2 separate regions of the Homo sapiens genome follow, and region 2 is linked to region 1. Evidence: promoter capture Hi-C in human tissues and cell types (Jung and others, 2019). All regions are on one chromosome and are shown on one strand. The core of a region is centred on a gene start or on the middle of the fragment in contact, and the rest is flanking DNA. Distances in the headings are between cores, read along the strand shown. Region 1 holds the start of PGBD5 (piggyBac transposable element derived 5). Region 2 overlaps PGBD5 (piggyBac transposable element derived 5).

Region 1 (4,560 bases), core at 1,308-3,807:
TAACCACTAATGTCTTTGGTTAAAGGACCTGATTCTTCGGTCCAGGTGTGAACTCAGTGGGCATCTGCAGGAAGCAGAATTTGAACCTAACGCTAAATGACACACGATCCTGCTCTTCATGACCGTAAGTGCTGCGGTGGCTGGATTAAATGGCTCTGCTGCAGAATTTCTCCCATTTCAAGGTTACTAAGAAATATAAGATGGATTTAAAATTTATTTGTGTGCTCACCCTTCTCACATCAGCACATTCAGGATTCTTTTTCATAACTAGGCTTGACCTAGCACAAGTTCTCTATTTCGCCCTGAGACACGCAGAGACTTGCTGTGCAGTCCCAGGTGGACCTGGATCTCAAATGTTCCAGGATCGAAATTACATCACAGATGCTCACGGCATAAAGTCTGCCAAACCAGGTCTGTGGACTGGTACAATTCTTAAAGAGCCAATAGGAAAACAGCTGTCTAGGGCCAGGAGACCTTAATGACATCCTGGAAAATATAGGACAGTATAAAAGGACTATAGAGAGTCAATGATTTTGAAAATTCCCAAGCTCTTAACTACAGCCCAAATGCACATGCTTTAAAATGTACCCACCCCCAAAGCAGTGCACAGCTAACTGTGACTTTGCAAGCCCAGCTTTAGCTCCGCGCATCCACACCGCAGCCTGCCAGAGGTCTGCAGACCACTCCCTACTCAGAGTCCAGCTAACCCTACCGGCCTCCCAGCAGGCTGCAGCATGATGCCCAGATCCAAGTCCAGGCACCAGCTGGAGGTCCCTTGGGCCTGCCTTCCCATGTGCCGTGTTCCTGACCGGTTGAACAATAATCAGAGAAGGCCACAGGAAAAGCCGCATCATGCCCACCGCGGCCACTCCCTGGCCCTCATCAACACCGGTTGCGCGCACTTCTACGGAAGAACACAGCATGCAGGAGCACGGGCCTGCTACAGAAGGCCGTGGAACAAGAAATACCAGCATGAGAGGGCGGCTGGTCTGCAGCTTTCAAAGAAGGCAGAGGCTGCGGAGCTTCTGCAGAGGAAGTGGTGATATTTCAACAGCCAACTCCCACAAAAACAGACAGTGAAGAGGAGTGGGGCAGCCGCAGCTGCCAGCACCCTAGCCACCTTCTCCAGGTATTCGGGGCTTGTCTGTGGCCACAGTGGTAAGCAGGACACACCTGAAAGTACCTTCTGGCGGAAAAGCAAGCACCTTAACGCTGCCCAATCGGTCCCTTCCTTCACTCCTCCCCATTCTTAACAAGAGATCTGGAATGGCGCGGACAGGGAAAGTTTCTCAGATTAAGGAGAAAACTAAGCCAAGTCAAGACGCCGCGGGTGGCCTCTCTCTCAACTCTCACTGGGCCAACTCCTACCTGCCTCGCCCGCGTCACCTGCTGTAAGGCTTGCTCTTGGGCTGTCAGTGAAAAAACGACTCCCCCTGCCTCCACCAGCCACGCCGGGCTTTCAGAAAAGCCCCCTCAACTAGGAAAGCCTAACTTCAATCCACCCCTAAAAGTCCGACCCACAGGTGTGACAGACTTCCCATGCAGGGGCTGGGGTGCTCCCAGGAAGTGAAGGAAAAGGTCCCCGACGACATTGTCACTGGAAAAGTGCTGGCCACGGCCTCCGCCTTACCCTCTCCACCCACGGGTTCGGAGCCCCCAGGAGCAGTCAGACCGATCACCGCTCCTGCAGCCTCATTTGTTTCCGGAGAGACACCCACAAGCCAGCCCACGGAGAGTCTGGACTCGCCCGCCCCAGCACCCACGCCTCCCCCGCGCCCGGTTCCAGCGCCGCCCCCGACATCCACCCGCGGGCAGCCCCTTACCGCCGGTATCCTCGAAGCGCGGGGGCGGGCGGTCCCGCAGCGCTGCGCTCCAGCCCGCGCCGGCCTCGTCCTCCTCCGGCTCCTGTGCGTCCGGGGCGCGGGGCGGTGGCGGGGCGGCCCCTGGGGGTCCCGGGGGCTCGCGCTCGTCGTCCGAGGAGGCGGCCGAGGAGGAGCGCGAGGCGGCCGAGGTGCTGTAGAAGGGGTTCCCGCCGCTGTCCGGGCCGGACTCGCCGAACACGTCGTCCGAGATGTGCAGGCTCTCGTAGCGCGCGCGGGCAGCCTCGAGCAGCGCCGGCGCCCTCCTCCGCGCGCCCCCGCCGCCCTCGGCCATGGCCCCGGCCGCCGCCCGCGCGCCCGCCCCCACAGTGCCTCCCAGCCGCACACGCCGGGCCCTGGGCCCGCGCCGCGGCCCGCCGCCCCCCACCAGCGCAGCCCGCAGCACAGCGCCCGCCGCCCCGTGCCCGGCCGGCCCGCCGTCTTGGCCGCCTCGGGCCCAGCGCCCGGGGAAGCGCCCTCGGAGCTCGGGCGCCGCAGGCTGCGGGCCGCGGCGGGAGGCGAGCCGCGCGCGGGGCTGGCAGGGGCGACCCAGAGCGGGCGGGACGCAGAGGCTGCGGCCGAGACCAGGCGCCGCCGCCGCCACCGCCGCCACCACCGCCACCACCGCCGCCGCTGCGTCTCCTCGGCGCCCGCCGCCTCCCTGCCCGCCCTCTCCACGGCCTCCGGCGCTCGGCTGCCGACCTTCCCGGGCGCGAGCCGCCAGAGGCGGGCCCTGCCGCCCCTCACCTCCCGCCCGCCGGCCAATGGGGAGCCCGGCCCGGACAGCCGCGGGGGAGCTGGGCGGGCCCGGCGCGGGGAACGCCCCCACCCTCCTCCGCGGGGCGGGGCGGGGCGCGCGGCCGGGGCTGGCGGTTAGGGGGAGGGCCGCCGGCGGCAGTGCCGGTCTCCTCCTACAGGGACGCGCAGCCCGGGACCGCCACGCGCAGCGCGGGAGGGGGAGGGCGGGACCGGGGAACAGGAGGGGAGGGGGACCCGGGTGCTTCCAGCGGTCCGGGCCCGCGGACGGAGTGCGGGCCGATCCCGCTCACTGTCCCCTTCCGCAGTCCGCGTGCAGCTCCAGGGAGCTGTCCGCCCCGGTGGTTCTGAACCAGGCGCCGCCGAAACGCTCCAGGTAGGCGGCGGGCCCGAGGTCACCACACCCGCGGCGGCGGCTGCTGCCGAGGTTTCCTGGGGGTCACTGCCAGCTGCGCCGCATGCTCCCATAAATACAGGGGCTGTCCAGCTTCTGGGAATCTCGCTCTAATTAGGAGCCCGCCTCGCCGGTCCACTGTTGGTCGCTGGTCAGATGCTAACTCCGTCTCGCTTCAGTATCCCTGTAATTTAAGGGTGCCAGCACTGGAGTTAAGTAGCTAGTCATTCCTCATCATCGTTGACGTGTGGCATCTTTTGAACTCAAAATATCCATTACTTCCAAATACTAATTACTCTCACACCTCTATTTTAATATCTCCTTCACACACACACTTGAAACACTCATGTACTGAAATATTGCATGATCACCCAGGCTTCAGTGCTCTCATAAACAATAGCACAGAAAGGTTGCATCCGCCCCTCTTCCTTGGGCAGGAATGTGTGGTGGTCATCCTGTTGATGGCGATACGCGTAACGGAGACTGCCTTGTCTTCTTGCTCCCCTCCTCCTCCTTCGAATAATGCAATAAGTCACACTAATGGTAAATGGGCCATAAAGTCACTTTCACTCTGAAATAAAATAAATCCTCAGAGATGTGAAGGGCTTACAAATCCTACTGAGCATTAACTAAATTGTAGTTACATGAAACAGAAAGGCATGTTGCGATTTCTACGAATGCATAAAGGATGAAGGACCATTTTGCCGCCAAGTGGGGTCACTTCTAGTGTCGAGCAGGAACCTTCACTCATGCCCTCCCCTCCCCAGCCCCTGTGGTTCCTCCTTCCACATCAGGGGCTCTGCACAGGCATAGGTTCATGATCATCACTAACAGACAATATATAAAAAGGAAAAGATTCATGGAACTTTCCTTGCTATGTGGATTGGCTGAAAAATGAGGAAGTGCTTGCAAAGCATTTTTACTCTCTTGGAAGAATTATGCCACGGAAAATATCTGGTTTCCAACATACCTATATACTGTGCTAACCAGCTGAAAGTTGTTGAAGAGAGTACAGGTAATCTGACTTATCAAAAAGGGTGATAGTAAAGCATAGGTTGAAGATGCAAGAAGAAGAGTAAGACTCCATAGCTCAAGTTCAAATTCTGCAATTAGGAATTGTGTGAGGCTCCTGCAAGATTTCATGTTATCTATTTTAAATAGTTGAATGGAAAAAATAATTGAATGGGATTCAGAGAGTTAAAATCTGTAGGAAAGAGTTCCTTCTTTTCTTCTCCAGCTAGCCAATGAAAAAGTCAACAGCTAAGGTACGTGTTTTAAAAACGATGAATTGCTTTGCTACCCATAAGGAACCAAGGAACAAAACAACAGCAGTGGCAAGGATGGACAGAGTCTTCCGGTGTCCCTAATTTGCATTTGTATGGTGCTAATTCCCAGGAAACCTTGGGGCCTTGTGCTTCCTAGGCTCACAAATGCTTGTAGCTCACACCACATGCAACACTGAGGAGAGGATTATATGGACACAAAAGAAACACTGAGAAGTCAAATTGTTACTTCAAAGCTTGTCCAATAAAAATTAGATGAATATTTCAA
Region 2 (4,560 bases), core at 753-3,252, 34 kb before region 1:
TCTGCCCACCATAAGTGGGTGACCACTGCTTCTTTACTGCTGCCAATCCAGTTCCATGGTGAGCCTCTATCTTCCAGGTGAAAGGGACCCAGATGCTCTCTCACCCACCCATGCCTTTGGGTCTACACAGCCTTCCATCAGAGCTGGTTTCAGCTTCCTCACACCCTCCTTAGAATCACCAGCAGAAGCCCAAACCCCATTCTTGGCTCCTCCCAACCCCTCTCACCTCACCTGAACATCTCACCCCTCTTCTGGGGTGCATCCTCTCTGGCTGCAGCAAACCAAATCAGCCTACATTTGTTTGACAATAGTTGTGTTACTGGTGGGCTTTCAAAGGGTGAGGGCAAACTCAAGTCTAAGGTCGGGCATCTCACCCAGAGGGTGGAGGTGGTATCAGAATCACATGTAGCATCTCCAAGCCCTGCCGCCCATCCCTACCTGCCCACTCCAGGGAGCCTGGGTTGCTCCTGCAGCTCAGAATCATGGGGCCAGGGAAGGCTTCCTGGGACATCTCAAGAAGCCCACTTGTTGGGTGTGTGTTTTAGCAGAGGCTCATTGCCAGTTTTTTTTGTTTGTTTGTTTTTGAGATGGAGTCTCAAAAAAAGGCTGGAGTGCAGTAGTGTGATCTTGGCTCACTGCAACCTCTGTCTCCTGGGTTCAAGCGATTCTCATGTCTCAGCCTCCCGAATAGCTAGGATTACAGGAACGCACCACCACAGCCAGCTAATTTTTGTATTTTTAGTAGAGACAGGGTTTCATCATGTTGGTCAGGCTGGTCTCAAACTCCTGAGCTCAAGTGATCTGCCTGCCTTGGCCTCCCAAAGTACTGGGATTACAGTCATGAGCTACCACGCCCAGCCTCATTGCCAGTTTTTATCCACCTCCATTTCATAGTGACTAGTCATAGCGACTGAGCTCAGTCCATCAGGAAAGCACCAGGGCATGTCACCGAGGCAGGACAGTTTGCCTGAGTGTGGGGGGTGGGGCGGGAGGGAGCTGCTACCAGCCTGTCGCTGTGGCTGACATCTGGAACAAAGCAGATGGGGACTTCATGGTAACATCTCCGAGGGCCTGAGACATAGTCCCAACTCACCCTCCTTTTAGTCATCAAAACATTTAGGAAAGATTCAGAAATTGCGCATGGGATTACAGTTTAGCAATTTTCCGATTTTGCCCCCTCATTTTCTCCCCTAGGAAAAAATATGAGTTTGCTGTCTCCTTCCCTGCAGGGATGTAATAGAGGTTTTACGGATAGAGAATTTCTCAAATTGCATCATTACAAAATGGTATATGCTAAGGTGTACCTTATGTGTGAAATTTCCCGGAATCAGGGAAAAGTATAACACACAAAGCAAACGTCAAATCAGACCCTTTCTCCTCACCCCTCTCCCTCCTCCTCACACCTTAAGACCTCAGTGACAAGCTTTTGCCTCCTGCAGTAAAACAATTTCCAAGACCAAACTGTGAGGTACCAAGGAGAGAGAGACCTGTATTTGGCCATCCATAAAACACAGCTCCTACTGTATTTTGGTGCACTTAGGAGGATATGCTATTTCCAGAAAAATAAACCTCTTCCTCACCATTTCTAGTAGCCAATAAATAGCAGAGACTTTATAATTATTAAGCAGCCCCAAACACCTGGCACTGATCTTCGTTAAATTCAATAAAAAACGAGCCCCATGCTGCATTTCTTTCTTCCATGCTCAGCAGTGGCCCGAGCCTACGCCAGAGAACGGGGCCAAGCTGCCCTTCTCCCCCAAAGGGAGCCCGACACAGGAGTCCTGCTGGGCGTTTGCTCATTTTAATGATGCGGTTAGAAAGGAACAGAAGATGAAATGAACTTTTCATAGGAAAAGGCTGGACCGAGGCTTACTAGGACTGTGAAGCTTCACTACCAGATCTCCAAACGAAAATCCTACTTGCTTTGATTTTTTTCTCTTAAGAGTGCCTTGGTCATGTGTCATGGGGCTGATCCCCAGCTGCCACCAGCTTCAGATAACCTCAGTGCTTCCTGGCCACATCCCCCCACACCGGGGCTGCCCTGAGAGGCATGGGGAAAGTCACGGGTCCTTTGGGGATAAGCACTGACCCACGGCCCTGGAGGGGCATCCCTCCAGGATAAGAGGATGCCTGTGCCCCACGTACCCCTGCGTCTCCCCTCCTTCTATCCCATTGGGTGAGAATCAAGCTGGGGAAGGCCAGAGCCCGAGGCCCGGCTGATGAGCCCCAGGCTTTGATGACAGGCCTGCTTGACAGGAAGCCTTCAGATGTCAGTTCATTCCAGGCAGATCTTCTCCCCCTCCAAAGCTGAGTTATAAAGCACCCGAGCTTTGTTATTTTATCTCCGGCTCGCAGGAGCCCTGGGAGGGCAGCTGCTTTGGAACTTTGAGGCTGCTCAGCCCCTGCCTCCTCCGGACTCTCCTCCTTCCGGGGCTCCTTGCAAGCGTGTCCTTCACCAGAGGACTGTCAGGACTTCCCACCACCAAAACCTGTGCTCCACACCCGCTCCTCAGCAGCGGCCTGCTCTCACCCAAGGAAATCCCCCGTGCGGCCCTGAGGTCCACCTCACAATGGAGATACAAGCCCCACAGTGCTTGGCTCTCCGGCCTGGGAAGCTGGAGGGGCTGAGCTAGAAAAGTTCAGCCCAGCAGCATGAAGGCAGGCCTGGCTGACAGCACACTAGACCCCGTGGGGTTCAGCCCCAGAGCCTGGAGCAGCAGGAGCAGACAGCTCTCCAACCCCAGCTGCAAGAGAAGAGGAACTGGAGGGAGAGGCACAGGAAGGGGAGGAGGAGGAAAAGGGAGAGCAGTGGTGGGCGGGGGAGCAAATCAGGGAAAAGGAAAGGGGGAGAGGGAGAAAGGAAGGAAAAGAGGAGAGGGATAGGAAGGGGAAGGCGGAGGAGGAAGAGGAAGGAGGAAAGGGGAAAAAGAAGGGGAAGGGGAAAAAAGAAGGGTAGGGGAGGAAGAAGAGGAGGAAGGAAAAAGGGAAGAGAAGGGGAAGGGAGGGGGGGAGGAGGGAGGAGGCAGGGAAGCCAAGGGAAAGGAGGAGAGGAGGAGGAAGGAAGGGAGAAGAGCAGGGAAAAGGGGGAGGAGGAGGGAGGAAAAAGCGAAGAGAAGAGAAAGGGGAGGGGGAGGGGCGTGCTGTGCTCAGGGCCAGTGCAGCCACTGAACACAGGAGACCACTGGCGGGGATGCGAGGAGGAGGAGAGCAGGCGGACTCTAGGAGGCTCACCCTAGGACACTTCACCATCCCACCTTTAAGGAGGTGACTCACAGATTCTCACAGGACACGGGAGGGTCTCTGCTGCCAGAGGCTTCCACCCAATCTTAGCGCCTGCTTTAAGAGCCTCAGAAGGAGCTCAGAAAAGAAAATAATAGGCCGGGCGCGGTGGCTCACGCCTGTAATCCCAGCACTTTGGGAGGCAGAGGCAGGCGGATTATGAGGTCAGGAGATCGAGACCACGGTGAAACCCCGTCTCTACTAAAAATACAAAAAATTAGCCGGGCGCAGTGGCGGGCGCCTGTAGTCCCAGCTACTCGGGAGGCTGAGGCAGGAGAATGGCGTGAACCCGGGAAGCGGAGCTTGCAGTGAGCGGAGATCGCGCCACAGCACTCCCGCCTGGGCGACAGAACGAGACTCCGTCTCAAAAAAAAAAAAAAAAAAAATAATAGGCCCGGGGCCCGCCAGTCCACAGCCTGATTAGAAACATGTGGCTTCGCAAGGCTCTCCCTCACTGGCTCCCCGCCCTAGAGTCCGCCACACCTGCCCCGGCCTGGCATCCTCTGCAGGCTTCCAGCTCTCCCACTCTTCTGGCTCATTCCGCCCCTGACTGGGCTACAAATCTTACAGAAACATGGACTTCTTTTATCCAAATTCTACCTATGGCTCCTCAGAGAACGCCACCCCATATCCTATACTCATATTCAACAAACCATGCCTATTTTATCTCCCTGGAGATCAGCCACTCCTGGATGGGGATCATCCCACAGGGCCAGGGAGGGTGCTCCCTCCTGTCTCAGGCCTGAGGACCAGGGCAAAGCATGCTAGATAAACGTGCCCAGTACCCTCAAGAACCTCCGTTTCGTTTCCCCTAAAAAACTCCACAGGGACCAACTCTGACTCTGCCCTTCTATTGTGCTACAGGAGTGGCGGTTTTCGAGTATGAGGAGGGGGAGCCTGCTCCTAGGATTTGCTCATTGTCAGGCACTGCTAATGGTGCTCCTCCCCCGCTGCCCACACCCCACCTCTGCTCCCCAAGCCCCTCCCTGTGCTGCTCCTCCCCCTAGTTGGCCAGGGTCCTCCAATCCTCCCGCTGTGCTTCTTCCCATCCCCAAGCTCCTTTCACTCCCTGCCCTCCTCTCCTAACCCCAAGCTCCATTCATTGCCCACCCCCCTCCCCTCCTCTCCTTGTGCTCCTCTCCATCCCCGAGCTCCTCTCTCATTCCTACCCTCCTCCCCTCCACTCACGCTCCTCCCAATCCCCAAGGTCCTCTCATTCCCACCTTCCTCCCTTCCTCTCCTCACGCTCCTCCCTATCCCCGAGCTCCTCTCTCATCCCTA

The links. The method cuts DNA at HindIII sites, captures the fragments that hold promoters and counts their contacts. A contact is called where the count stands out against the background at its distance.
Region 2: a fragment that was not itself captured here is called in contact with the fragment with the promoter of PGBD5 in region 1 in 1 of the 25 tissues and cell types used here (hippocampus).

What each region holds. Positions count from the first base shown.
Region 1 is chr1:230,423,775-230,428,334 of GRCh38, forward strand. PGBD5 (piggyBac transposable element derived 5) reads right to left here and starts at 2,558. Exons shown (of 7, transcript NM_001258311.2): 1 at 1,824-2,558. The coding sequence starts at 2,154. RefSeq lists a silencer at 2,505-2,824 and enhancers at 2,633-3,180, 3,181-3,727. The HindIII fragment of the contact is 8,713 bases long and covers 1-4,560 here.
Region 2 is chr1:230,390,180-230,394,739 of GRCh38, forward strand. All of the region lies in intron 1 of PGBD5 (piggyBac transposable element derived 5), which reads right to left. Among named protein-coding and RNA genes, the nearest start is that of PGBD5, 34 kb to the right of the region's middle. The HindIII fragment of the contact is 5,528 bases long and covers 1-4,560 here.